Regions from separate parts of the Homo sapiens genome. Here regions 1, 2 and 3 are each linked to region 4. The links are contacts of gene promoters, found by promoter capture Hi-C in blood cells and fetal thymus (Javierre and others, 2016). All regions are on one chromosome and are shown on one strand. Each heading gives the region's core, a stretch centred on a gene start or on the middle of the fragment in contact. The rest is flanking DNA. Distances are from core to core; before and after follow the strand shown. Region 1 overlaps AGTPBP1 (ATP/GTP binding carboxypeptidase 1). Region 2 overlaps AGTPBP1 (ATP/GTP binding carboxypeptidase 1). Region 3 overlaps AGTPBP1 (ATP/GTP binding carboxypeptidase 1). Region 4 holds the start of QNG1 (Q-nucleotide N-glycosylase 1).

Evidence for each region. The method cuts DNA at HindIII sites, captures the fragments that hold promoters and counts their contacts. A CHiCAGO score of 5 or more calls a contact.
Region 1: a fragment that was not itself captured here is called in contact with the fragment with the promoter of QNG1 in region 4 in 2 of 17 cell types (non-activated CD4 T cells and neutrophils); the score reaches 6.3 in non-activated CD4 T cells.
Region 2: a fragment that was not itself captured here is called in contact with the fragment with the promoter of QNG1 in region 4 in 5 of 17 cell types (total B cells, naive B cells, total CD8 T cells and 2 more); the score reaches 7.4 in total B cells.
Region 3: a fragment that was not itself captured here is called in contact with the fragment with the promoter of QNG1 in region 4 in 2 of 17 cell types (monocytes and total CD4 T cells); the score reaches 6.9 in monocytes.

Annotation. Positions count from the first base shown.
Region 1 is chr9:85,666,788-85,674,555 of GRCh38, forward strand. AGTPBP1 (ATP/GTP binding carboxypeptidase 1) reads right to left here. Exons shown (of 26, transcript NM_001330701.2): 7 at 5,763-5,894; 8 at 2,698-2,791. Among named protein-coding and RNA genes, the nearest start is that of AGTPBP1, 71 kb to the right of the region's middle. The HindIII fragment of the contact is 5,380 bases long and covers 1-4,738 here.
Region 2 is chr9:85,605,062-85,612,555 of GRCh38, forward strand. The region is part of intron 17 of AGTPBP1 (ATP/GTP binding carboxypeptidase 1); the gene reads right to left. Among named protein-coding and RNA genes, the nearest start is that of AGTPBP1, 130 kb to the right of the region's middle. The HindIII fragment of the contact is 2,033 bases long and covers 5,163-7,195 here.
Region 3 is chr9:85,645,858-85,653,590 of GRCh38, forward strand. It overlaps AGTPBP1 (ATP/GTP binding carboxypeptidase 1), which reads right to left. Exons shown (of 26, transcript NM_001330701.2): 12 at 464-561. Among named protein-coding and RNA genes, the nearest start is that of AGTPBP1, 92 kb to the right of the region's middle. The HindIII fragment of the contact is 842 bases long and covers 4,299-5,140 here.
Region 4 is chr9:83,954,332-83,961,840 of GRCh38, forward strand. QNG1 (Q-nucleotide N-glycosylase 1) reads right to left here and starts at 2,411. Exons shown (of 4, transcript NM_032307.5): 1 at 1,833-2,411; 2 at 1,050-1,309. The coding sequence starts at 2,169. The HindIII fragment of the contact is 8,080 bases long and covers 1-5,369 here.

The DNA.
Region 1 (7,768 bases), core at 799-3,298, 1.7 Mb after region 4:
AATTATAAAATGCAGTACCGATTAAAGGGAGAAACAGCAAATAAATAAAAGCATAACTAATGTACTTTTAGTGTTAGCTAGGAATCATTCATACACACACTACTACATTGCTTATCTAAACTGTATTACATTAATACAGGCATTGTGCTAATTACAGGAATCATATCATTACAACCTTATAATAGAGATGCTAAATATTATTACAATTTTACAGACAGGAAACTGGGGCATAATAAATTAAGTAACTTACTTGTATCCTAGGGCCAGTAAATGATAGAGCTAACATGCAAATCCAAGTCTGTCTGCCTGCAGAGCCCACTCTAAACCACCATAAGACACCAATATTCTGTGTTACTGATTGTGATACAAACATTTTGTTTGCTTTGTTACATTTCATCAGATACTCTGGGATTGTGTATAATTCTTACACAGCTGTAACTATGTTGTCATCCCACCAAATAATATTTAATAAATAGTCATATGTGCAAGTAAGCTCAGAAAATATTTTAAAATATTTGACCCTTATTAAGAAAGGGTGAAAACACTGGAAATGTCCTGAACCCTATTTAAGAGTAAAGTCAAATCAAATAGTTCATGTGGACAAGTTCTTCATTACAAAAGATTCACAGCTAATAAACACAGGAAAAAAATAAAACTAGATAAGTTATTATTTTCCAACCACTAATGAAATAACAGATACAGGCAGTGTCATGAATGACTGCTAAATCACTAAGTGAAAAGTGGATGGGGACATTTCTAATGGGTAGATAACCTCAACTCAATTATCTTAAGTGACATAAAACAAAGTTGCCAGCTCCACCTATGAAATATTTTTGACCAGAAAAAACAAACCAGAACCCCAAATCTAATCAAGCCACAGTTTTATCAGTCTACAGAAAATGTAAGGGATATACTCATATGTTAAATAACTTCAGGATATAGTCATTGTAAGCCAGAACGTGTGACATTTTAAAAGACCTATCACTGAAGACCTTCAACAAATAAAACAAAACCAAAAAACAGGGAAACTTTTTTTTATTTCAAAAGATTATGAGACATATCAATCAAATATAATGTATAGACTTAATTGAAGCCCTGAACAAGCAAGCCAACTGTAAAAAAAAAAAAAAAAAAGCATTTCCTAATCAGAAAATATCAGATATTAAGAAATTACCGTTAATATTGTTGGGCACAGAAAAGACAACTGCGGTAACACTAAAAGAGAAAAGATCTGTAATTGACAGTGATCATATTAAAGAATTTACAGCTCAAATATAATGGCTGATATCTGCTTTAAAATACGCTAGGAAAAAAGAAAAACAGAAAGAAAAATAAAATTAAAATGACAGATTTTTGATAGTACAACTGGGTAACAGGTACATCAGAGTTCATTATATTATCCTCTCTACATTTGTGTAGGCTTGGAAATTTCCTAAATATAATGAAGAATAATGTATGCATCTTGTTTGGATTCTGATTCAAACAAACCAACTAAAAAGGGGCTATTTTGAGACAACTGGAGAAAATCAAACAACAGACCAGATTTTAGATTGTATTAAGTAAGTATCAGGAGGGAGAGGTGGGAGCATCACTTGAGCCTAGGAATTTGAGGCTACAGTGTGCCATGATCATGCCACTGCACTCCAGCCTAGGCAACAGAGAGAGACTCCATTTCAAAAAAAAAAAAGAAATTAATAATTTTGTTGGCTATGATTGTAGTATTCTGGTTATTTTTAAGTCCTTATTTAGTAGAATTATATACTGAGGTATTTAGAAAATAAATGATAGTATTCAAAGAAAATAATCCAAGAGAAAATATCTAGGATCTGCTTATAGAAATACACACACATTTATGTATATATAAAATACCTGAGATTTCTTAAAAGTACCCCAGGAAAAACAAACAAACAAAAGTGTGGAGTGGAAACAAATGAAACAAAAATGGTGGAATGTTCAGAATTGTTAAACACAACAAGTAATTAATATAACTCAATATAATCAGTTTAATATAAACTCTATTTTATGTATGTTTTAAAAATTCCACAATAAAAAAAAATTTTAAAGAAAGACCTCTAAAATGGCTTAAGAAAATATTAAACTGTAACCAATAAATGAGACATGGCTTTCATTTTCTGAGGCTGAAAGGCCTAGGAATGAATAAAAATACATACATACATACATGTGTGTGTGTGTGTGTGTGTGTGTGTGTGTGTGTGTGTGTATACATACACACACACACACACACACACACATCTCAGGATGGGGGAAAAAGAATGATGTGATTTTGACAAAATAGAAATGTATCAATTTAAGATTGTTCAGGTATTCATAAGAATGAAAAAGTCATTACAAGATTGTAAAATTGGGTGAGAAATATAGTAGGCACTCAATAAATGTTTCTGAATGAATACTCTATAGATAATCTTTTTTCCTTTTACAGTATCTAGAAATGTTCAGTCTAAGTTACTATAAACATTATATTCAATGAAGTCAAAACTGTCCAATTTTGAGATATTTGTGAAGATTAAATTTTATACTAAAGAAAATCTTTATCATGATAAAATCATTATTTAAGAACTAAGAAATGAAATAACCCTGGAGACAATTTAATTCAACCTGCTCATTGTACATATCAAGATAATGAGGCCCAGAGTAACAAAGGCTATACCTATGTTTACATTCAAAACATTTACTCACTTTATAAGACTGGAATTCTTCTTACTAAATGGTCCAATGATTTTAAACATCAGTTCCACAACTCCATTTTTCCCTAAGGATACTGAATTCACAGCTGAGAGGGGGAGAAAGAGATGCAAAATTATTTTAAGGTTTGACAACCAAAAATGTGTATACTTAGTGATACATAGGCAAAAACATATACAAATTGTTTAGTAAATGTCAACTCAAGTCACCTTAAAGTCCATCTAAGCTAACCACATGAAGAAATAGTGTTTTTTGTTTTTGCTTTGTTATGGAAAGTGCAGGGAAATTCTGAAACGAGTTATATGCAAAAAAAAAAAAAAACCACTATTATAAAAAAAATTCTTCAGTTACTCTATATTTCTCTAATAAATTTAGTGAACCTCACTGAACACCAGGTTATGGGGATTCCGAAACAAGAATAAAATCTCTGACCTCAAAGAACAAAGTGTAGAGAGAATGACAGAAACAATAAACAAATAATTACTAAATTACTTTCAAAATAGATCAAGAGTTGTAGACTATTTGGATTACACCATTGAGAAGTTCCTAATTCAGAGTGAGACAGACATTTCTGGAGAAAATGATGCCTAGGCTCAGTCTTTAAAAGTGAGTAGTAGTTAGGGCAGGAGTAGAGGTAAAGGGGTAGATGTGGCTCTGGACACAGGAATAATACAAACAGAACGAAGACAATGAACATCACAATGTGAGCAGTTACATAATGTTAAACACAGAGTATCAAGAAAAGATACACAAATAGGAAGATGAGGTAGAAAAAGATGAGAAATTATGAAGGGCCCTAGAAGTTGTTAATTCTTTTGACTATGGGGAATCACGCAAAAGGAACATATCAGATGTGAATTTTAAATAAATAGGTCAGAATTCAAAGAACTCTGAGGAAGCTGGTTTTGAAAGACACATTAGGAGGCTATGGTCTAGGTAACAGGTAATGAGGACTTTAATTAAAGCAAGTGTAGCAGGGAAAAAGATGGAACAATTTCAGTATTTAATATGGAATATACAAATAATTACCTAACCAGAAAACTGTGCTAAACATTTTTAATTCTGAACAGATGTTATTAAATATATTGTAGAACCAGGGACAATGGCATGTGCCTGTAGTCTTAGCTGCTTGGGAGGCTGAAGCAGGAGGATCGCTTAAGGCCAGGAGTTCAAAGCCAGCCTGAGATGTATAGCAAGACCCTGTCTCTAAAAGAAAATCGTTTAATAAACAATTTTTAAATTATAGATAAGCCATCTGCTAGCCTTCTATTGGTTAATCCAATAAAATGCCACCAAAAATGTAGCTCCTAATATTTCGTAGGATGATCTTAATTTTCTCTGTTTATTACTCCGTTATCCCTTCTAATTTCATGTCTATACTGTATTCCTTTGACCTTGATTGAAGTATTTGGTGGTTTAGCTGTTTTATTTTTACATTTGGGGGTTTTTGTTGCATTGTTGTTGTTTTTGAGACAGGGTCCTGCTGTGTTGCCCAAGCTGGAATGCAGTGGTGCAGTCATGGCTCACTGCAGCCTTAACCTCCTGGGCTCAAGAAATCCTCCCACCTTAGCTTCCTGAGTAGCTGAGACTGCAGGCACACATCACCACAACTAGCCAATTTTTTCCTTTTTTTTTTTTGTAGAAATGGCATCTCACTATGTTGCCCAGGCTGGTTGCAAACTCCTGGCCTCAAGCGGTCCTTCTGCCTAGCCTCTGAAGTGCTGGGATTACAGCCATGTGCGACTGTACCAGTGTATTTTATTTTTAATCCAATACAGTTTTATTTTTTAAATCAACTGCTTTTCTATTTTCTAATGCATATTTTTCCTTTTACCTTTACTATTTCATTTCTTGACTTTACTGGTGTTTATTTCTCTGTTCTTAACTTCATTGGTTAGATATCTAATTCATTTGTTTCCTTATGTTCTTTTTAATTACATGTTAGTTATTTAAGTGTTCTAAGCTGTTTTCCACAGAGCACACCTTTAGCCATATTTTAAAGGTACTGATATACACACACAGAGACATATACATAAGCTTATGTATGTTTATATATTACATATATGTATATACGCAATATACACACATATCTAGCACTCTATCATTATTTTGCAATGATATTCTGCAATAACATATATTCTGCAATTCAATCTTAGGTTCTTTCATTAACCACTTCAATTCTGCAATCAGAGAATAGAAAAAAAAATCCACACCTCATGCGTGGAACCTCGTGTTAGTGAGAGTGTGTGTTTTGGGAGACATTTTATCTGAGTCTGTCTCTCTGTGAGCCCTCTTCTCTCTAGCTTCTCAGAGGTTCCCATACTAGTTATTTTCAGTTCTGCTACTTCCCTATTGATTGCTGAAGAGAATTAGCTCCAGGTGACTATGCTACTGCATCCTTTCCTTCTAGGCTTTCTCCTCTCATCTGTGACAGTCTAAAGAGGCACAGGAGTTTTTCCAGCTACCAATACCCTCATATTCTTCCACATCTTTTCTACAGGCTGCCTAGTCATCCTCCTCACTCCTATCCTTTATAAATTGGAGAAATTAGTTAGAATGTTCAAGGTTTTACCAACTTAACCTTTTTTTTTTTTGGTTGAGACGGAGTCTTGCTCTATCACCCAGGCTGGAGTGCAATGGCACAATCTCAGCTCATTGCAACCTCCACTTCCCAGGTTCAAATGATTCTCCTACCTCAGCCTCCCAAATAGTCAGGATTAGGCGCCCACCACCATGCCCAGCTAATTTTTGTATTTTTATTAGAGACAGAGTTTCCCCATGTCGGTCAGGCTGGTCTCAAACTCCTGACCTCAGGTGATCCGCCCGCCTTGGCCTCCCAAAGTGCTGGGATTACAGGCATGAGCCACCATGCACAGACCAACTTAACCTTACCCCACATCACTTTTGTTGTGGTTGGAGTCAAGAGTTAAAATGAGCCATATTAAATCTTCTCTTTCCTTTTTCACAAATATCAGAGGTTTACAGAATCAGGATACTTTAAAATTCTTTTTGTGTAACTTTACAACACTGAGTTAACTAAAAGCCACCTAAATACTCACAGTTGGCAGAATATACTCGTAAAAGCTGAAGGCAAGGTAGAACCAAGCGATGATTCTGCAAATTCTGCTTGACCAAATTCAGGGTTATATTCAGAGCCCCATTAATTCTAGCCTTTACTCCAAATTTTTTATCTGTTTAAAAAAAAAAAAGACAATTTATGCACATACAACTTTTCTTTTTAATTTTTTTTTTTTTTTTTTTTGAGACAGAGTCTTGCTCTGTCATCCAGGCTGGAGTGCAGTGGCTCCATCTCAGCTCACTGCAACCTCTGGCTCCCAGGTTGAAGCAATTCTCCTGCCTCTGCCTCCTGAGTAGCTGGGATTACAGGCACCCACCACCACACTGGGTTAATTTTTGGATTTTTAGTGGAGACGGGCTTTCGCCATGTTGGCCAGGCTGGTCTGAAACTCCTGACCTCAAGTGATCTGCCCGCCTTGGCCTCCCAAAGTGCTGAGATTACACGTGTGAGTCACTGTGCCTGGCCCACATGTAAGTTTTGAATGAAATGATGATATTATAAATCAGTGATGTAAATTTTAAATTTACATTATGAATTAATTTTATGAAATATAAAGTTGGCCTGAAAAGAATAAAATTATAATCCTTTTTTGTATTATTTTTAAAATAAAACATCCCTTTTATTTTAAAACATTAGTTGAAAGAATGTACTAAGAAACAGACAGGGGGATAGGGAAGGAGGATGGAGGCTAGAGTAGCCCAACACTTAGACTGTCATTAAAAAAAACTGAACTGCTCCACTACACATATACATTTGTCTAGTTCAACACACTTCCCAGAACACCAACACAGAGTTAAAAGGAACAAAATCCAAATGTCCATTACAATAATACTTAATATGAACCATATTCTTTTCTGACTTGTAAAAAAATAAAAATTCATTTAAAAAATTAACAGCTTATGTAGAAAATAATCTGGCAAATATTACCAAATAAATTTCTAAAGGGAAATAATTCTTAACACAGGAAGGGAAGAAAAGATGTTCTTAATTTTTATTCTCATGAAGAGATTAAAACAGTAAAAAAAATTTTAAATAAGAAGAACTTAAGAATGTTAAGATTTATAGTAGACATTGGAGATACAAAAAGTGGCAGGGTGGGTGAGGGGTGAAGGTTGAAAAATTACCTGTTAGCTACAATGTTCACTATTCAGGTAATGGGTATATTAAATGCCCAGACTTCCCCACTATACAATACTACATGTAAGAAATCTGCACTTGTACTCCACTATATAAAACTACAAATAAAAATGAATTTTAAAAAAGACTTAAGGCAGGGCGCGGTGGCTCACGCCTGTAATCCCAGCACTTTGGGAGGCTGAGGTGGGTGGATCATGAGGTCAGAAGATCCAGACCATCCTGGCTAACATGGTGAAACCCCGTCTCTATTAAAAATACAAAAAAAAATTAGCCAGGCGTGGTGGCGGGCGCCTGCAGTCCCAACTACTCTGGAGGCTGAGGCAGGAGAATGGCATGAACCCAGGAGGAGGAGCTTGCAGTGAGCCGAGATCGTACCACTGCACTCCAGCCTGGGCAACTGAGCAAGACTCCATCTTAAAAAAAAAAAAAAAAAAGACTTAAACAAAGTAAATAGGACCAGCAAACAAATAATTTTAAATCAAAATAACTCAATATTCCTGAGGAAAAATTATTTTACCTCACTAGAAAAATAAAAAGAATAGAAAAATCACTCAAGAAATTACCATATAATGTCCTTGAATGACATAAAAATGGGAAACTAGGGCAAACCATAAAGGAAATAGCCCAAATTTAAAAGAATATATAAGAGAAAATAAATATGACCTAAAACTTAAAAGGGATATTAAAGAATGATAAATATTTTTAAAATCAATATCTTAATTTCATGAAAAGTAGAAGATAACCTAGTTCTAATTAGAAGAGAAAGCATAACAATACTCATCAATAAATAAGGGGTTTTTTTTAAATGAATTTTCTGCCAAATTATGGTTTTCTTATTTTTTCATTTTC
Region 2 (7,494 bases), core at 4,929-7,428, 1.7 Mb after region 4:
AAAAGTTTATTCAAAGGGATAATACCAGAGAACTTTCCAAACCTAGAGAAAGATATCAACATTCAAGTACAAGAAGGCTATAGAACACCACGCAGATTTAACCCCAAGACTACTTCCAGCCATTTAATAATCAAACTCCTAAAGGTCAAGGATAAAGAAAGGATCCTAAAAGCAGCAAGAGAAAAGAAACAAATAACATGCAAAGGAACTCCAATATATCTGGTAGCAGACTTCTCAGTAGAAACCTTACAGGTCAGGAGAAAGTGGCATGCCATATTTAAAGCACTGAAGGAAAAAAGCCTTTGATCCTAGAATAGTAAGTACATCCATTGAAAATATCCTTCAAACATGAAGGAGAAATAAAGACTTCCCCAGACAAAAAAAAGCTGAGGGAATTCATCAACATCAAATACTTGTCCTACAAGAGATGCTAAAGGGAGTTCATTCTGAAAGAAAAGGACATTAATGAACAATAAGAAATCATCAGAAAGTACAAAATTCAATCGTAATAATAACTACACAGAAATACACAGAATATTATAATACTGTAATCGTGGTGAGTAAACTACTCATATGTTGAGTAGAAAGACAAAAAGATGAACCTATCAAAAATAATGATAAAACTTTTCAAGGCATAGAATAATAAGATATAAATAGAAACAACAAAAAGTCAAAAAGTGAGGAGGGATCAAATTAAAGTATAGAGTTTTTATTAGTTTCCTTTTTACTTGTTTGTTAATGTTTGTTTTTACAATCCATGTTGTCATCAGTTTAAAATAATGGGTTACAAGATGTTATCTGCAAGCCTCACAGTAATCTCAAAAAACCTACAACAGATACACAGAAAATAAAAAAAGAAATTAAAAAATATCACCTGAGAAAATCACCTTCACAAAAGGGAAGATAGGAAAGAAAGAGGGAAAGAAGAGAGGACCACAAAACAATTGGAAAACAACAAAATGGCAGGAGTAAGTCCTTACCTATCAATAACAATGAATGTAACTTGACCAAACTCTCCAATAAAAGGAAACAATCAACAGGGTGAAGAAACAACCTGTCGAATGGGAGAAAATATTTACAATCTATTTATCTGACAAGGGATTAGTATCCAAAATATACAAGGAACTCAAACAACTCAATAGTAAAAAATAATCATAATAATCTCATTAAAAAGTAGGCAAAGGACATAGATATTTCTCAAAAAGAAGATATACAAATGGCCAACAGGCATATGAAAAAATGTTCAACATCACTAATCATCAGGGAAATGCAAATCAAACTACAATGAGATACCATCTTACCCCAGTTAAAATGGCAATTATTAAAAAGAGAAAAAAAAAAAAAGATGTTAGTGAGGATGTGGAGAAAAGAGAACTCTTACATACTGTTGGTGGGAACGTAAATTAGTGTAGTCACTATGGAAAACAGTACAGAAATTTCTCAAAAAACTAAAAATAAAACAACATAAGATCCAGCAATCCCACTACTGGGTATTTATCCGAAGTAAAGGAAATCAGTATACTGAAAGGATACCTACACCCACCCCATGTTTATTGTAGCACTATTCACAATAGCAAAGATATGAATCAACCTCAGCATCCATCAATGGATGAATGAATATAGAAAATGATATATATACACAATGAAATACAATGTGGCCATAAAAAATGAAATCATGTCCTTTGCAGCAACATGGATGGAATTGGAAGTCTTTATGTCAAGTGAAATAAACCAGGCATAGAAAGACAAATATTGCATGTTCTCACTCATATGTGGTAGGTAAAAAAGTTGATCTCATGGAAGTAGAAATTAAAATAATAGATACAAAAGCTGAGAAGGGTGTGTGGGAGGGATAAGGGGGGTGAAGAGAGGTTGGTTAATGAGTGTAAATATATAGTTCAAGAAAAGAAATGTTTTAATGTTCTATAGCAGAGTTGGGTGACTATCAGTAACAATATATTGTATATTTCAAAATGGCTAGATGAGAGGACTTAAAATATTCCTAACATACAGAAATGATAAATCATCAAGGTGATGGATATCCTAAATACCCTGACTTGATTGTGACACATTCTATACATGTAACAAAATATCACATATACCCCATAAATATGTGCAAATATTATGTATCAATTTTTAAAAGTTAACTATATAAAGTAGTGAAAGGTTCAAGTTAAGGTCAAATAGCACTTTAGATTTGTCTCATGTGTTCTAATGTTATAAAAAACAATTATTATTACATTACATTTAAAACAATGTATTCTCATATCACATTTAAAACAATCATATTAAATGCTGGTCACAGTGAAGTTAGCTATATTTGGATATTCTGACTGTAACAAAAACCATTTGGACAAAGTAAGTTGCCCCAGCAAGAATCAATCAAATGAGGTAAACTCAGACTCAATAAACCAGTCTATTCAACCTGATATAGTATGGAAAGCCTATATCTGAGCAAGATTTATTCATTAGTGAAAGGATAAACCTTCATGTATGTAAAACAAGTGTGCTTAAAACTGTAAATTTTTTGCCTCAAATATAGATAATCAAAATATTAAATTGCCAGAGTGCCAATGGCACTAGCCCCTAATAATATCCAAGTAAAGGCCAAAGTTTTATTGAGAACATGGTTAATATTATGTGCAAATACAAAGAAAGATGAGGTGTTTTAGGTCATAATCATTAATGTACTATAAATCACAGATTTGTAAAATGTTGGAGTTGATGTTAACACCCTCATTTAACAGATGAGGAGAACAAGAAAAGTTTAAAGTGGAGCTCTAATAAACCTGAAGGCATCTATCGTAAGCTGCATGTTATTTACACCCAATGACTCTACGTAGAAAAAAATACATGCTTCTAACACGTCTAGTATTACAGCTGCGATTTCAGATTCAGATTCAGGTGGCTGCCATTATCCTCCAGTCTCAGAATTTGATTTTTCATCCCAACCAAAGAAGAAATAAATAAATTCAATAAGTAGCACATATAAAACCACACATGACCCAGGCCTTCAGCATTACTAGAAGACAGAATATAACAAACTTTAAATTGTTTATAAATAGTAAAATGAGCAAAGATATAGAGGATGGAACAACAGAATTGGGGTTGAAATCTTTAAAGTAGATTTTAGAATAAAAAATATTTAATGAGAAAAAGGAGGAATTTTATAATGACAAAGTCACAATTCATAATGAAAATATAATAATACTTAATATCAATGCATCTGATAAGATCAACCTCCTACATAAGGCAGAAACTACAGAAGATATAAGCAGAAATCGACAGGGACATACTATTGATATAGTCTTCAAAACACCACTCTCAGAATAAGATAGAACAATTGAACAAGAAAACAAAATATAGAGAACCAAATGACATAATCAATGTGGCAATTTTTACATCTAAATGTCAAATGTCTCATCCTGATACAGATGAAAAATATATCTTCTTATGTGAAGAAGATATATTCTTTATTATCTTCTTCTCAACAGCACATGATACATTCATAAAAATTGATAATATATATGACAATATATTATCAGCAAATTTTAAGCAAAGATATCTTCTTTGCTTGGAATTTGATGATAATATATTAAGATATAATATAAGATGATATAAGTAATATATCTTCTCAATAGCACAATACATTCACAAAAACTGATAATATATTACATCACAGGGAAAACAACACCAAATTTCACAAAACAGAAATATTACAAACTCTGGTCACAGTGTACTAAAACTAGAAATTACAAACAAAATGAAAAAAACAAACAGGGAGGGAACCCACGCAGGAGGATGGAAGGAAGAATAATTTGGGATATCAGACCCTCAATAGGGTGGAGGAAGGCATCTGTCCAAATAGACAACAGGGAGATTATTACATAAACTGGAATTGATCAAACAAGTTAATATATTACGGACAGTGGGGCCCAAAATTATCTCTGTTGGAGAAGAAAGTTGTAAATATGGAAAGAAAACAAGAATAAAGCCTGTGTTATTTGCTCGAAAGTTAAGGTATAAGTATAATCTCATGGAGTGTATGTGTGTTTGTGTGATTATATACACACATACATAAATATGTACCTACAAATATGGAAACCACTACAAATGTGAATTACTGTGTAAATATTATGTATGTATTAAATATACTCCCTAATTGTTCATTGAGATAGTTTGTAAACAGTAATAACCCAATAGCAATGTGTATACCAAGTGTACAGATCTTTTTTTTTTTTTTTTTGAGATGGAGTTTCGCTCTTGTTGCCCAGGCTGGAGTGCAATGGCATGATCTTGGCTCACTGCAACCTCCACCTCCCAGGTTCAAGCGATTCTCCTGCCTCAGCCTCCCAGGTAGCTGGGATTACATGCAGGTGCCAGGCTCATTTTTGTATTTTTAGTAGAGACGGGGTTTCACCATGTTGACCAGGCTAGTCTCAAACTCCTGACCTGGTGATCCGCCTGCCTTGGCCTCCCAAAGTGCTGGGATTACAGACGTGAGCCACCGCGCCCGGCCAGATCTTGGTTTTTAAACATCATTCACTACTAAAGTAAAATGGCACTCTTTGAAGAAATGGCAGATTTCATTCAGGGGTAGAGAAAAGCAAGATGGGCCTTGTGCCAAAAAGCAAGGGCACCCATAAGGAATGACAGGGATATCTCAAAAGGGCACACACACCAGCATTAATGGTATCCCACTGGCCAAATCCTGGACAATTTGAATATCAAAATAAATAATGATAGCAACAAATTATAACTCATTGAGTCAAATAGGAAACCCAGTCTATACTGATAATACATTAAAAGCTTGAGAAGGAACAAGATATTTAGATAGTCTCAAAGTACCTCAATGTATAACACTAATTACAAAGAGAAGAAGGAAATGTAGGAAAGCCACACACCTAAATAATATTAAACTGTAAAGAGCACCCCAAAAGGCAAAAATGTATGAGGAACATTTGTCAGGGGGACTAATCCATTCTAGGGAGGCAGAGGAGACTTGAATTAACTAACGTGGGCAAAGCGGTGAGAATGCTACAGACTAGACTCCAAAATTGTACTTTATTGCCTGGTTCCAAACATGTTCAATTTATGTAAGAAGGCAGTTGAAAATCCTCAGAAATCTGAGAGAAACAAAGATGGAGAGAAAGTGAAAGAGAAGCTTGGTACTGAAGCTCCAAGTCACTAAAATGCAAGACTGCCATCTGGTGGTAATTTCAGCAAATCCCTTCCAAGTAATGGGGGGGTAAGAGGGGGTGATGGATTGAAACAGACACAGCACTATTTAGTGACACACATTCTCAAATTCAGTATTTCAAAGGCAGTATTCTCTTTACAATTGAAAATACAGTGTGAAACATAAATATTTTTAAACTGCTTAATTTTAAGATCATTCACTTGTGAAAACCACTAAGTATTCAATAGAATCACTTTTAAAAAGCTCAAAGAAAAGGACAACTTGAAAGAGAAGCAACTGCCAGCCTGTTCCTTTTTGGGGACACTGCCAAAGAACAAGACCTCTATTGGGCACATTTTCTAGAATCCAACACTTAAATAGTACCCCAACCGGCACGCCCCAATCAAAAAAAAAATTACAGACAATAAGCTACTCTCCTAACTGATACTACTTCCTCATTTCAATCATGTCTGACAATTAAATAAATACCTCCAGATGAAGAAGTTTCCACTGCACATACTTTCTTTGGTCATCAGCCCCCACCCTTAAAATGAATTATTGCTAGTTATAATTGCTTACAATGTTAAATTCTAGTTTACCAAAATATTGGTCCCTTTCTTTTAATTCTGTTAATGTTAAGACAAACCAAGATTTGCTTTATGTTGTACTGACCTAACAAATCTAAAGATAAGTTTAATAAAATATTACATCTACCTAAACAGCTCCCATAGCTTCTACTAACTTCCTAGTTAAATACTTACAAATACATGGAAATAAGAAGAAAACTCACAATAGACAACTTATCATCAGAATCTGGAAGGAATCTCTATTAAACTTAAGGCAGATGGAGCAAGACTGAAAAATCCAATGCAGAATATGCCTCGTGATCTGTATCTTGTGGTTTAGGGGCTTTTCTTTTTTTTTTTTTTTTTTTGCATTTTACATTTTGGATTCCACAGCTAAAATAAGTGTCACACTAAATAAAAAATAAAGAAAACAATAAAGAAGTACAAAAATAGAAAGCATAAAAACCCAAACACATCAATTGTAAGAATTTTAAACAGGTTAAACTCCTCTATTAAAAGACAAATGATCAAACAACAAAATCCAACCTCTTATTTATGAAAAAAAAAGCAAACATACATCAAGCAAATTCAAACCAATATAAAAACAGAATTCAAGGCAAAAGATGCTGAATGAGATAAATGTGATAATTTTATACTATTAAAGAGATATGCAAAAGGAAAATGGAAAACTTACAAAATTCTGTGTGCCAAGTAACATTGTATTAAAATAGAAAAAAAAAGTTTTTAAATGAAGGCTTGACAGAAACACAACATAATTGAAAGACTATTAAGTATTTTTAAGTCTTAGGTAGATAGAGAAGACAAAAAATAAACAAGGATATAGAAAGTTGAATAGATGTATAATATTAAATATGAAACAATATATTTTTGGGGGACAGAGTCTCACTATGTCACCCAGGCTGGAGTGCAATAGCACAGTCTCAGCTCACTGCAACCTCCACCTCCCGAGTTCAAGCTATTCCCCTGCCTCAGCCTCCTGAGCAGCTGGGATTACAGGTGTGTGCCACCAAGCCTGGTTAATTTTTTGTATTTTTAGTAGAGATGGGGTTTCACCATGTTGGTCAGGCTGGTCTCGAACTCCTGACCTTGTGATCTACCCACCTCAGCCTCCCAAAGTGCTGGGATTACAGGCATAAGCCACCATGCCCAGCCAAATATGAAATAATAAGAAATCTCTCTCTATATATATTGGTCTCTACCCCCCAGTTCCTGGCTCAGAGCTCCTAAAACCCTTGTCATTTCCCAAGCAATGGAGGTGCCAGAAACATCTTTTGTTCTAATATTTGGTCTTTGACCCCACTCCCTGACAAAGAGCTTCTAAATCTCTTAGAACTTCCTGGTGATAGAAACAACTTCTATTCTAATGAGGCAGCTCTTGGTGTACTCTTTGATGGGGATTGGTCACCAAAAAGACCAAGTCATGATAAGAAGCTTGGAACTTTCAGCCCCAAACTCCATCCTCAAGGGAAAGGAAAGGAGATGTAAACTGAGTTAATAATCATATCGATGTGATGAAGCCTCCATAAAAATCTCCAAAACACGGGATTCAGAGAGCTTCCAAGTGATGAATGCATCCACATGCCAGAAGGGTGGGGCACTCCAACTCCATGGGGAAAAAAGCTCCTGTACCCAGGACCCTTCTGGACCTACCTGTTCATCGGGCTGTTCATCTGAATCCTTAAATCTATCCTTTATAATGAACTGTGAATCGTAATTCAGTGTTTCCCT
Region 3 (7,733 bases), core at 3,470-5,969, 1.7 Mb after region 4:
CAATAATACTTTTTTCACTTCCTTGTTCAATTAACTGAAACCTAAGAATCATTATGCAAACACTAATTCTCACAAAAACAAATCCATTATAGAATATTTTCCTACTGTTTTTGTATCCCCAAAAGACTGCTGACAAAGGATAATAATGCATTTTGAAATAAGTTGCCACAAGAGAGTTTCAGATCACTTTCCTTCAATTTTGTAGATTTCAAAATCTAAGGCAGAAAGGTTAGATAAAATCTTTCTGGTCAGAGAGAGTGAAAATAAGTTACTTTAAGGTCCTTTTCAGACCAGTGGATTTAAACCAATATCATCTACCCCTTTAATTGCATAGTCATTCATGGTAAAAAGATGTGGACAAAGTAAAACCTAAAATTACATATATATTTATTTACCCAATTTTTGTTTTACAACTGTAGTATATCATTTATAAAGCTAACTAATTACAGAAATTTATACTAACCTTAAAATTTTGATCTAGGTCATCTTCATTCTCAGTTTCGTTTTCAGCTTCTACATCAATATCATCGTTGTCATCACTTTCATCTACTACGTCATCCACTATGATACAAAATGTGCTATAAGTAGGTCAGAGGTAAGCATTCTACAATATGCATAGCCAATGGTAGAATGTGACTTATATAAAGTATTTCAATCACCAGAGAAAAAGTAAATGAGATTTCTTATTTAACATCTCTCTAAGGCTGTCCCAGCTGTTGACAAACCCATGGGACCATATAAGAAAGTGCTTCAAAATTTGGAAAGCACTGTAAAGGTGAATTTTACTAATGTTCTCAGTTTTTAAAAATAATGTCTTATGTTGCGATAGCCTGAATGAAACATCCTGTTTTCTATTTATTATAAATTTCAATGACTCACTTCATCCCTTTATAATTGACCCCCTATTTGTTTCAATGACAGTCATGTGCCACATACTGTGCTATATGCTGGGAATTTTTTCAAAAGATGTGTAAATCGGGTTGTCTAATCTTTTTGTTTCCCTGGGCCACACTGGAAGAGGAAGAACTGTCTTGGGCTACACATAAAATACACTAATACCAACGATAGCTGGTGTGCTTAAAAAAAAAAAATTACACACACACACACAAATCTCATATTGTTTTAAGAAAATTTATGAGGTCAGGCGCAGTGGCTCACGCCTGTAATCCCAGCACTTTGGGAGGCCAAGGCAGGCAGATCAGCTGAGGTTGGGAGTTCGAGACTGGCCTGACCAACATGGAGAAACCCTGTCTCTATTAAAAATACAAAATTAGCTGGGCATGGTGGTGCATGCCTGTAATCCCAGCTACTCGGGAGGCTGAGGCAGAAGAATTGCTTGAACCTGGGAGGCGGAGGTTGCGGTGAGCCAAGATCGCGCCATTGCACTCCAGCCTGGGCAACAAGAGCAAAATTCTGTCTCAAAAAAAAAGAAAGTTTATGAATCTCTGTTGGGCCACATTCAAAGTCAATCTGGGTTGTATGTGGCCCATGGGCAGCATATTGGACATGCTTGGTGTAAATATAGTCTCTTCCTTCAGGTAGCTCATGAGGTTAAAGAGCAGAAAGGAGTAAACATGTAATTATAATACCAAAGATAAACACTAATGAAGCCATAAACTCCAAAATACTATGGGAAAATGAGGAATGAGGTGGCTCATGAGGTCAAAGAGCAGAAAGGAGTAAACACGTAATTATAATACCAAAGATAAATGCTAATGAAGCCATAAACTCCAAAATGCTATGGGAAAACGAGAAATGCAACAACTAATTGTAAACTGCTTGGAGACAAGGGGCTTGATGCTGACCACTTCACAGAATAGGTGATATTTAAGCAGTATCTTGTAGAAAGTATAACAGATTTCTATGTGAATGTAATGGTGGGTGAGTGTGGCTTCTAAGAAGAGGAAATAATACTACTAAAATAAGGAAGTGAAATGATATCTTTAGAAAATAACAAAAGGTATGACTAGGATGAAGAGTATGCTTATGAAAGTACTGAAAGGAAAATAAAGAATTAAAAAATGAAGGATGTAACATAGTAGGCCAAGTAGTACTGACTTTTAATATAAAGAAGATAGGCACTGAGAATTTTCAAGACAAGAATGGCTTAATTCAATTTTAAGAGGTGAGAGAGACAGCATACGGGTGGAAGGTGACCAACAAACAGGAAAAGAAAAAAATTCCATGTTGTAGCAGGATAGCACAGGGGTTCTAGAAACAGAATACCTGAATTCAAATCCTAGCTCCCGAACTTACTAGCTATTTGACCTTGAGCAAGTTACATCAATTCTTTGTCTTCGTTTCTTTGTCTATAAAATGGAGATATCTACTCATAGTGTTTCTGTGGGCATTAGAGAAGTTAATATACGTAAAGTGCCAGGCAGAGTATGTGTTACACAAATGTTTATTACTGCTGTTGCTTGAGGGACTGTGCTACTGGGTCTCTTTGTAACAGCAGTTTAGTCGACCCTAACTAATACAGGTACAAATATAAAAACAAATCACCTCAAATTCTTAGATAGCAAAAAATAAATATTCATATTTCACATGGTAACCTGGGTTGATTTATACTTATGCCCTAACGGCAGTTGGTCATGGATAAACAAGGGAAGAACTGACATTTGGAAGAAGAGAAGGAAGAAAATAACTCCTAGGAAAAAAGAAAGGGATTGAATTAAGGCGCGGTGGTTCACACCTGTAATCCCAGCATTCTGGGAGGCCGAGACGGGCGGATCACGAGGTCAGGAGATCGAGACCATCCTGGCTAACACAGTGAAACCCCGTCTCTACTAAAAGTACAAAAAATTAGCTGGGCGTGGTGGCGGGCACGTGTAGTCCCAGCTACTCGGGAGGCTGAGGCAGGAGAATGGCGTGAACCCGGGAGGTGGAGCTTGCAGTGAGCTGAGATCGCGCCACTGCACTCCAGCCTGGGCAACAGTGCGAGACTCCGTCTCAAAAAAAAGAGAAAGAAAGAAAATCCTATTGCAAGTAGGAAAAATGACTGCTTGGAAAGAAAGGGAGAGGAGAAAATGCAGTTCAGCATCAGAGAGAAAATATGTTTTCAATTTTTAGTCAAACCTTTCAAATATTTTCCTTTGTAGGATGTTTTCCTTAGGGTTTATACTCCAGATGTGAAATGCCATGTAGCTTAAGAGCGTCTGAGACCTTCTCTGCTATTTCAAAGATCCATTCATTATACCAGTACCAATAATTAACAATATTAATTATTATAGCCAATCAAATTAAAACCAGGGAATATAAACCAAAATTCTTACTGATTTTCAAAATGTCCTTGGCTTATAGTAAAAACAGAAATATAGGAAACAACTTAAATGTCTATCAGTAGGACACTAGTTAGATAAATTATACTACAACTGTATGATGTAGTCATTAGAAGGAAAGAGTCTGCACATTCTATAAGGACTGGGAAAGTACATCACGGGAAGTTTATTTTGTTGTTGCTATTGTGCCTATAAATGTGATCTACTTTCCCTTTATGTTTTCTATGTGTTTTTTGTTGATACACATATACACACGTAGAGGAAGGCTATTTAATTTTATTCATTTTTCTTGTAAATAGTACTTTACTGTTCCTTTGCGTAAGCCACTTTTTTACAATTGATTTGCTTGGATTTTCTATATAGACAGTAATATCCTCCACAGATACTGATAAATTTATCTCACTCTTTTAACGGTTAAGACCTTTCTTTTCCCTATCTTACTGATTTAGCTAGAGTTTTCAAAACTACGGTAAATAATAATGGTTGAGAGAGGCATCCTCTAACATTTCATTACTATTTATGATGTTGGCTATTGATTTGAGCTAGATAATACTTAGCTTGTTCAGGAAATATTCCTGTGTTCCTTAAAAATTTTTCTACACTGATATGATTTTTATGAAATCTTGTCATGGCATTTACTGAGATGATCATTTGGTTTTGTCCCTTTGATCTACTGATAATATATTTTACTAATTAAAGTCTTAATATTACAATAAACTTACTTTCTTAAAAATCATCTTTACTTGGTCAAGGTGTCCTAAACGTAAACAATACTGCTCAACTAAATTTGCTAATACTTTAGGATTTTTATATTTATTTTCATGAGTGACAGTGATCTGTAGGTTGTTTCAGATTAATCTTACCAGATTGTGTTTTCAGCATCATGCTAGCTTCTAAACTTTCCTTTTTTTTTTTTTTTTTTTTTCTTGCTCTGGAAAATAAAGTGTAGGACAATTTCTTGAAAGTTTGGGAGAACTAATCTATGAAGTCATCACCATTTGGTGTCTTCACTAAAGAAGCTTGATTGCATATTCAATTTCAAATTTTTTACTATTTAAGTCAATATTAGTTATTCATATTTTCCTAAAATATTGTCCATTCCAATCACACAGTGACCCTTGAAAAATGTAAGTTTGAACTGTGCAGGTTCGTTAATACACAGATTTTCTTCTGCCTCTGTCACTCCTCAGATAGCAAAACCCCTCCTGCCCCTCCTCCTCCTCAGTCTATTCAATGTGTAGACAACAAGGATGTAAACCTTTATGAAAACCACCTCCACTTAATGAACAGTAAATATGTTTTCTCTTCCTTATGACTTTTCAAATAACATTTTCTTTTGTCTAGCTTACTTTGTTGTACAGAATACACGTAACATAAAAAATATGTATTAACTGTTTATGTTATCAGTAAGGTTTCTGGTCAACAGGTTACTAGTAGTTATGTTTTGGAGGAGTCAAAAGTTCTATGCAGATTTTCAACTGCACAGAGTCGATACTGCTAATCCCCAAGTTGTTTTAGGGTCAAGTCTGTATTCAAATGCATTCGCAGGAGTTGCCTTTAACATCTACTTAGACTGATTTAACCACCCCTATTTACTTTGCCAAGAATGTAGAGGTATATTAAAATCAACCACCAACACTGTTTCTACCAATGTCTTTCTGTTATTCAAATGATTATAGTTTTGTCGACTTTTAGTATTTGGCACATGTGTTATCTAGCTTGCATAAAATAATCTTCACTGCCTTGTTTTAATCATTTTTTATTCTGTATTCGTGTTTTGTTTAACAATAATACTTTCCTTCTCACCTCTTCTGGGCTAAGGAATAACACATACATATTTGCTAATCTGTTTACTTTCAAGCTTTCTATCCTGCTGTCTTAAGAGACTTCATATGTACCAGCTAGTCGGATTTTGTTTTTTAACCCAATCTGGGAGTCTCTTTCCTTCAACAGGAGTATTTCATCCATTTAGACTTATTACTGAAACTGATCTGCTTGTCCTTGCTTAGCCTTTAGTGCTCTCAGGATATTGTGCATCTTTGAAATTTCCTTGCTTTTACACAGCAATGATGGACCCCTATAATTTTATATCAATTTTCAAAGTGTCCATAGTCTCCAAAGGCCACCCATGTATTTCTATGGGTCAATGGACTCCTGTTTAAGGATCTCTGTTCCAGATGTTACCTTTACATTTGGCGAATATACATTTGGATTATTTGTATAATTTTCATTTTAGAAATGCAAGAACAGTATAATATTAGGAAATCTATCAATATAAATTTTAGCTCATTTATGTAAATACCCACTTTATAATAACTGTATTATGTATCTTTTGCCAATAATTAGCTAACATGTTTCATAATAATACTATAACAACTATTTAGTATTATATAGTTAACAGATTATAATGTTTAATACAAATACTCTTAGGTAACGTCTACATTCTTGACATCTCTAATTCATCATCTGACTGGCTGGAGTAATATTTCACATAATTACTTCAGGAAGGGAATACCTGGATAATATACTTCTGTACCCAAACATACCTAAGAATATGTCACCTTCACATATGGTGACAACTAATAAAGGTCCAGAAGTCTTGAGTCAGAACCCTTTCCTTCAAATCTCCATAGATGCAGCATTTAACATTCAGAAGAATAAGTATCAAGGCCAGCTCGATTCATTTATTCAACAAACATTAAATGCACTTATTATGTCCCACACAATCTAATGGATGCTGAAGACAAAATGAAAACAACAACAGTCCTATTGTGATATATATTTGATCTTTGTCCCAGGTTCCTGGCACACAGCTGCTAAATCCCTTGGAATTTCCTAGGTAGAGGAGCATCTTTTGTTCTAATGATGTGACTCTTTGTGGGCCCCTTGATAACTTCAGGATAGAGGCTGGTCACTAGAAAGATCAAGGCATGATCAGACAGTTGGAACTTCAGCCCCACTCCTCAACCTCTGGGGAGAGAGGAGCTGGGGACTGATTTTATCAAAAATAGCCTTATAATTAAGCAATCACACCTACATAATGGAACCTCCATAAAAACCCTAAACAATGGTATAAAAGCTCAGAGTTTTGGCCGGGTGCAGTGGCTCACGCCTGTAATCCTAGCACTTTGGGAGGCTGAGGCAGGCGGATCACAAGGTCAAGAGATCGAGACCATCCTAGCCAACATGGTGAAACCCCGTCTCTACTAAAAAATACATAAAAATTAGCTGGGCGTGGTGGTGCACACCTGTAGTCCCAGCTACTTGGGTGGCTGAGACAGGAGAATTGCTTGAACCCAGGAAGCGGACGCTGCAGTGAGCTGAGATCGCACCACTGCACTCCAGCCTGAAGACAGAGTGAGACTTCATCTCAAAAAAAGAAAAAAACAACACACCACTCAGAGTTTCTGAGTTGGTGAACACATCATGGTGCTGGGAGGGTGGCATACCTAGAGAGGGCATGGAAGCCCCACACCCCTTCTCTTATACCTGGCTCTATGCATCGCTTCCATTTAGCAGCTCTCAAATTGTATCCTTTATAATAAACCCATAACCATAAGTAGAGTGTTCCTGAGTTCTGTGAGCCATTCTAGCAAATTATCAAACTTCAGGAACAGGTTGTGGAAACCCCCACCCCCATCAACTTTATTGCCAGTAGGTCAGACATACAGGTAGTCCAGACTTGTAATTGTTATCTGAAGTGGTAGCAGTCCTGTGGGACTAAACCCTTAACCTGTGGGGTCTGTATTAACTCCAGGTCTTCAGTGTCAGAATTGAACTGAATTGCAGAACACCCAGCTAGTGTCTGGAGATATGGAGAATTGGTTGGTATGAGGACAAAAGACACATATTTGGGGGTCAGAAATGCTGTGAGTAAAAGAGTTCAGACCTATCCTTGTGGACTCACATTCTAGCTGAGGAAGGTAAATAATAATAAAGACTGTGAAACATATAATGAAGCCTGACATGTGAGAAAATAATGGAAAACAAAGCAGAGGCAAGGGCATGTAGTCCCAGCTACTTGGGAGGCTGAGGTGGGGGGGATCTCTTGAACTCAGGAGTTCGAGACCAGCCTGGGAAACATGGGGGGAGGAAGGAGGAGGAGGAGGAAGGAATAATGGAAAACAGAATGAGAGTATTTTCCTAGTATCTATACACTTGCTATTAGAACCCTCCTCTCCCATCTGAATCAGGAAGGCTTGTCAGTCAATGTAAATATGCATTTCTAGTCCAGTGACTCATTGGTCTGAGAAGCAGGCATCAAAGGAACTAAAAGAAAAATATAATTTCTTGTTTGTTCCCGTGTTTGGTGAATTTACTGCACTAGAGGTCGGCTTTCTCTATCCGTCAATCCAGACACTAAATAAAGAACTTGCTGGGGCCTATCCCACCTCCTTCCTGGTGTTACTACTGGCCGCAGCACAGGGAAGACTCACCAGCTTTCCACCAGTG
Region 4 (7,509 bases), core at 1,161-3,660:
AACATTTTAAAAGGAAAAAAAAGGAAGTAAAGAATGAAATATTGATTAGAAAACATAAGAAATGAGATGAAACTCCATCTCTACTAAAAATACAAAAAAACTTAGCCAGGTGTGGTGGCATGCGCCTGTAGTCCCAGCTACTCAGGAGGCAAAGGCAGGAGAATCGCTTGAACCCGGGAGGCGGAGGTTGCAGTGAGCTGAGATAGTGCCACTGCACTCCAGCCTGGGAGTCAGAGCAAGACTCCATCTCAGGGAAAGAAAAAAAAAAGGCCCGGCACAGTGGCTCACGCCTGTAATCCCAGCACTTTGGGAGACCGAGGTGGGTGGATCACGAGGTCAGGAATTCAAGACCAGCCTGGCCAACATGGTGAAACCCCGTCTCTACTAAAAATACAAAAATTAGCCTAGCGCAGTGGCGGGCACCTGTAATCCCAGCTAGTCGGGAGACTGAGGCAGGTGAATCACCTGAACCCGGGAGGCGGAGTTTGCAGTGAGCCAAGATCGCGCCACTGCACTCTAGCCTGGGTGACAGAGTAAGAGTCCATCTCAAAAAAAAAAAAAAAAAAAAAAAAAGGAAAGAAATGACGCCAGCGTGGTGGTTCACGCCTGTAATCACAACACTTTGGGAGGCTGAGGCGACCAGATTACCTGAGGTCGGGAGTTTGAGACCAGCCTGGCCAACATAGTGAAACCCCGTCTCTACTAAAAATACATAAAATTAGCCGGGCTTGGTGGCGCATCCCTGTAATCCAAGCTACTCGGGAGGCTGAGGCAGGAGAATCGCTTGAACCCGGGAGGCAGAGGTTGCGGTGAGCCAAGATCACGCCACTGCACTCCAGCCTGCGCAACAAGAGCAAAACTCTGTCTCAAACAAACAAACAAAAGAAAACATAAGAAATGACTTTGAAACACTACTTGATTTTGTTAGTTTCTTCCACAAGGAATACATTTAAAAATTTAAGTTTTTATTCTTAAAATGAGTTCTGGAAGTAAAAGAGTTAACTCTGAGATGATTAAGACTTCTAAAATCCCCAACAGAAGCAACTCACCTCAAACAGAGTCACATCTCTGTAAGAAGGAAAACTTTCAACCACCAGGTGCATTAACTTCTGCGCACTATTCTCACTTTCTCGGACGCAGTTGAGAAAAGAGCCTCCAAACTTCTCCAGCAGAATTTTCCCGGTTTCATTGAGAATCCGATGCCTCTCTTCTACTAAAGGCATGGAAACGTCTGTGTCAGAACGAAGTATATTCCGAACCTGATCCAGGGTCACTGTCGCGTAGTACGAGGCACTAGTTATTGGTATCCCTTTAGTGAAAAAATAAAATTCAGAGGACCAATGTCATACTTCCATATGCATTAAACCCTTGCTTTTACAACATGGAATTAATATGAAACCAAATGAGTGGTATAGGAATGCACCAAAAGTGGAAGAATAAAAAATCTAAAGCAAAACTCATTTTCTACTTGTTCATCTGTACTTATTCACCCATTTCTAACTATTGCAATATTACATCAGATGTATTCTGAGTAAATTGCTTTATAACATCGGTCCTTTTGTTCTTCAGGTGTCATTCAAATGGCATTCTTTATAAAACTGACTTTTATGCTACTGTAACTTTTATGCTGCAATGATAAATATTAACATCATTTTCCACTAAAATATGCCCCTTTTCATACTTCTATTTTAAGCATAAGGACTTGCAACGAACTTCAGGTTCGCTTTCCATTATTCCATCTCCCAACCCGCTCCTTGGAACTCCCCTACACACACCCCAAGTAAATGGAAACCTCAAAGGCCGTTAGGTCCGATGGCAAGTATGGCACCAACCTTCGTCGAGGGCTCTGTTGACGGCGGCGCACAGGGACCAGTACCCACTGTATGTTTTCCCTCTGTACCTCACCACACACTTGTGCTCGTCCTGCTCCGACCAAAAGGAGAAGTTGAGCGTGTCTGTCACGAACACCCAGTTGACCGCGGCCTCGTCGGCCGCCCTGGGGTTCAGCTCATGAAGGGCTTTCCACCCCTCCACGCGCAGCTCTGGCCCCGCCGCCTTGGCCAGCAGCAGCTCTGCCACCCTCCGTACGCCTCCGCTGTCAATAAACACATCCCGACTGTTTTCTGCAATGAATTTAGAGGATTCCCTGGGATTTAGGAGCCCGTCCATTCTGCCCTTTGGGACCCGGCGGGCCAAACTCTTCCCGCCCTAGGCGGGTCAAGGTCCACTCTGCGCCTTGCGCTACTACGAACCGCGCGATCACAGGGCCTAAACAAGGTCCCGCCCTGCCAGGGAGTGGCACCGAGAACTTAGTGCAGCCAAGGTAAAGGTTCTCTCCCGCGGCGTTGCCCTGATTAGGAAACCAGAGAGACCCCGGGGCAGCTCGCTGGGCAGAGGCCGCAAGCACTTCCGGGAAAGCGGTCCCGTTCACGCCCTCTCGGGCGCGCTCTCAGGCTCCGCTTCCGGTTCCAAAGGTCTGGAAACTGCTAAGGGTCCGGCGTTCACCGGCCGTGAGTTGCCCACCCTGGGAGGTGCATGGCTTTGCCATGTTTTGCCTTTTCTCACCCCGCTTCGGACAGGTGGGACTCGAAGACGGCGACTCGCCGCCTTGCCCTGGGTCGCGATGCCCCCACCCCGCTCCCACCCCTCTCCTTTCCCGCAGCCTGAGCAAGACGCCTTCGGCAACGCCCCGCATCCGGGCTCCTTGGCCTCGAAGAGCATTATGGCCGTAGATCTGGGTGCTGAGGACTGAGCCACCCCCAGACTGCGACATGGGCGGCGGTGCCTCCTTCCCCAAGCCCCAGGGAGTGTTTTTTTGTTTGTTTTGTTTTTTGTTTTTGTTTAAGTGAATTCCTGGCCCATTTGGCCGAACGAACGTTAGGATTAGTTGGAAGGTTTGGAGAAATGGATGAGGAAACAAATGTGTTAAATTGTTAAATTAACCTTGTGTGCCTGGCAGTGTACTTAAGTACTAAATCTCACCTAGGCTGGGTCATGACGAAAGCGGCTATTGTGATCCCGCTTTTGCAAGTGAAGCTGAGTGGTTCATTGATTAACCCCCATCACAGCAATGGTTTGGGCTAGGATTTAAACCTTTGATAATTGAGCCCCCTAAATCGAGGGCACTTTATGAGCCAATCACCAGTGCCAACCATTCTGGTCAGTCAAATAGTGACTATATCAGTGGCCCTACTGAGAAGACATTAAAAATGAGGAAATAAGTGTCTCACAACTGCAAACTTACACAAGTACCTTATATTAGGAGAGAGGTGTAGAAGCCAATTTAGTGATGATCCAAATTTGACTGGTGATGAAGTTTTAGTATAAAGGTATGCATTTTTTTTCCTTTTGGAGACTTAAATCTCCATGGATAACGTTCACATCTTTGAAAATCACCTATTAAAAATAATCATCAGTACCCATCTCTAGTTACCGACAGGAAAATCTTGGTATTTTTGGAGGATTCGGAGCTTTTAAATTTGTTTGTTTGAGACAGAATCTCACCCTGTCGCCCAGGCTGGAGTGCAGTGGCATGATCTCAGCTCACTGCAACCTCCACCTCCCCGGTTCAAGTGATTCTCCCTGCCTCAGCTTCCCAAGTAGCTGGGATTATAGGTGTCAGCCACCACACCTGACTAATTTTTGTATTTTTAGTAGAGATGGGGTTTCCCTATGTGGGCCAGGCTGGTCTCAAACTCCTGACCTCAGGTAATCCACCCTCCTCGGCCTCCCAAATGGAGCTTTTTTTTTGAGACGGAGTCTCACTCTGTCATCCAGGCTGGAATGCAGTGGCACAGTCTCGGCTCACTGCAACCTCCGCCTCCTGGGTTCAAGCAATTCTCCTGGCTTAGCCTCCCGAGTAGCTGGGATTATAGGTGCCCGCCACCACGCCCGGCTAAGTTTTGTATTTTTAGTAGGGACAGGTTTTCACCATGTTGGCCAGGCTGATCTCGAACTCCTGACCTCAGGTGATCCGCCTGTCTTGGCCTCCCAAAATGCTGGGATTACAGGCATGAGCCACCACACCTGGCCCCAAATGGAGCTTTTAAATTTGACAGCTGTTACCCTAGAAAAGCAGATCTTCATCACTCCAGTTTCTTCATTTTGGTAAGAAAAAGGAACTTTAAGGACTCCACTATGATACGTTTTCCAGAAAAAGTCACTAGTACATTAATACAGTTGTTAAGGAAATGTAAGTCTGTTGGCTTGGGATTTTTCCTTTCTACCACAGCACCTAAGTCTTGGGAGACAAATTGATTTAGCAAGGAAATCTAGCAATCTGCAAAATAATCCAGAAGGGTAAATAACTTAGACCCTTTTCTCTCACTGAGGTTTATTGATAGAAAAAAGTCAAATGCCGGCCAGATGTGGTGACTCACGCCTGTAATCCCAGCTTTTTGGGAGGCCAAGGTGGGTGGATCAGTTGAGTGCATGAGTTCGAGGCCAGCCTGAGCAACATGGGGAAACCCTGTCTCTACCCAAAACACAAAAAATTAGGTGGGTGTGGTGGCATGCGCCAGTGGTCCCAGCTACTAGGGAGGCTGAGGTGGGAGGATCGTCTGAGCCCAGGAGGCAGAGAGATTCCAGTGAGGTGAGATTGTGCCACTGCACTCCAGACTGTGAGAAAAAGTGAGACCCCCCCCCGTTCCCCCTCCCACCCAAAAAGTCAAATTCCTGCCTATGTTCAAGGTATTTAAGCACTAAAAGTAGTATACACAAGAATAAAACATGCCTCCTTCACTCAACTTTGAGATAAATCAAAACTGTGTGTGTCTGGGATTTTTGTTTTTGTTTTTTTAAGTGTGTCTACAAGATGCTGAGAATACAAAAATGAGTTGGGCTGGCCGTGGTGACTCAGGCCTGTAATCCCAGCACTTTAGCAGGCCAAGGATCACTTGAGCCCAGGAATTCGAGACCATCCTGGGCAACATGACAAAACCCTGTCTCTACAAAAAAAAAAAAAGAAAAAGAAAACATTAGCCAGGTGGCTGGAGCCTGTAGTCCCAGCTACTCCCAGAGGCTGAGGTGGGAGGATCCCTTGAGCCTGGGAGGCGGAGGTTGCAGTGAGCTGAAATGGCACCACCGCACTCCAATCTGGGCAACCCACTGTCTCAAAAAAAAAAAAAAAAAAAGTGAGTTCTTCACCTACTGAACATGGTTTTCCTGCTTTTTCCTTCCCAATAGATACTGTGATACTGTTTAGGAATCCATCTCTCAACTGCACTCCCTTGTAGCTTAGTTTAGCATCCTCAGACTCAAGGGTAGTCAGGACTGGTAATATCACCCTCTTGCCAGCAACTGGATTAGGTTTATGCATATTTCCCAGTTCACCTCAGTGAGTTGCAAGATTTGCAGAATGCTTGCAGAAAAGCTTTTCCTCACTCTTCCAGGAGAATTTTCAGAAGTGATTCAGGCTCCCTCTGGACCTGATTGACCTTGAATGTAAGGCCTGGAATTGCTGCAGTCCTTTTGATGGCAACCTGAGTTTGTTTTTTGGTTTTGTTTTGTTTGAGATGGAGTCTCGCTCTGTCGCCCAGGCTAGAGTGCAGTGGCCCGATCTCGGCTCACTGCAAGCTCCGCCTCCCGGGTTCACGCCATTCTCCTGCCTCAGCCCCCCGCCGCCCCCCCGCCCCGGTTCTATCAGCCGCCACCATGCCCGGTTAGCCAGGATGGTCTCGATCTCCTGACCTCATGATCTGCCCACCTCGGCCTCCCAAAGTGCTGGGATTACAGGCATGAGCCACCACACCCGACTTTGGTTTTTTTTTTTTTTTTTGAGACGGAGTCTCGCTCTGTCGCCTAGGCTGGAGTGCAATGGCGCGATCTCCACTCACTGCAACCTCCGCCTCCCGGGTTCAGGCCATTCTCTCCTGCCTCAGCCTCCCGAGTAGCTGGGATTACAGGCTCCCGCCACCATGCCCGGCTAATATTTTGTATTTTTTTAGTAGAGACGGGGGTTTCACGATGTTAGCCAGGATGGTCTCTATCTCCTGATAGAGATAGATAAATCTTTGGCAGAAGCTGTACCCTGTAGGCATAGGCTTTATTTATTTATTTGAAACAGGGTCTTACTCTGTCACACAGACTGGAGTGCAGTGGTGCAGTCATAGCTCACTGCAGCCTTGACCTCCCCAGCTCAAGTGATCCTCCTGAGTAGCTGGGACTACAGGCATGTACCATTGCACCCAGCTAATTTTTAATTTTTTTGTAGAGATGGGGTCTGCTGTGTTGCCCAGGTTGGCTTCGAACTCCTGGGCTCAAGTAATCCGCCTGCCTCGGCCTCACAAAGTGCTGGGATTACAGGCGTGAGCTACTATGCCTTGCAGGGGTAGGCTTTTGAAGAGATAGTGATGACCTCTAAATAACCTCTAAGCTTGCATTTTAAAGGTTAACAAAGGAGGAAGACATGATCAATGATGTGTCCATATAACTTTCCCCCCCTTGAACAGTATCCAAGTTAGATTATTCCAGTCATCAAGAGAGTCATCATTTTTGATTAGCTAAATTACATGTCAAGCTCTTGGGAATGATTATTGCTATATCTTCTATTTTCTATGATAGGCTATAGCATTAAAGAAATGGAGGGTCGGCCAGGTGTGGTGGCTCATGCCTGTAATCCCAGCACTTTGGGAGGCCGAGGCGGGCTGATCATTTGAGCTCAGGGGTTTGAGACCAACCTCAACAACATAGTGAGACCCTGTCTGTACAAAAAACAATAAAAAAAATTATCTAGGTGTGGTGGCATGTGCCTATAGTCTCAGCTTCTTAGGCGCCTGAGGCAAGAGGATCGCTTGAGCCCAAGAGGTCGAGGCTGCAGTGAGCTGTGTTCGTGCCACTGCACTCCAGCCTGGGCAACAGAGGAAGTTGCAAAAGTTGCCTAGAGCAGTGGATGGACAATAGACATCGCTAGTGGGAGGACATAGTTTCCCATATGTGCTCAAAGAGTTATGCATAGAAGTGAAATGGATTTTGTGGAGGTAAGACATCTCTTATTTTTATTTCTTTTTATATACACAAAATGACAGACTGAATCCCCATGAAGCCATAGCAGAAAAGAGATATGGCTCACTACAGTGTAATTTTTCTGTTCCTTTTCTTCTTGATTTATCCATATTTAGCATTTAAGATTGAGCACTTCCTTGAAATTGTCCATTGGCTTGCAGGGCATTTATATTTTCCTGGTTTTCTTAGTGTCATTGAAAGCTCTTCCTACTCTCTCCTTACTGAGTTTGGAATGTTTCCTATTTATAGGATATGACTTAGGGATAGAATGGAATCTTTCTGTGAAAACCATGCCTATTAATTACTTCAATTTCTGATTTAAAATATTAAATTATAATGGAATAAATCTATTGTTTCCCATTATATATCATTAACATTATTACTACAGTTCAAAGCCAGTTAGAGTTTTTTGAACCATATTTTGCTTTTTTTTTTTTTTTTTTTTGAGAAAGAGTCTCACTCTGTCGCCTAGGCTGGAGTGCAGTGCAGTGGCGTGATCTCAGCTCA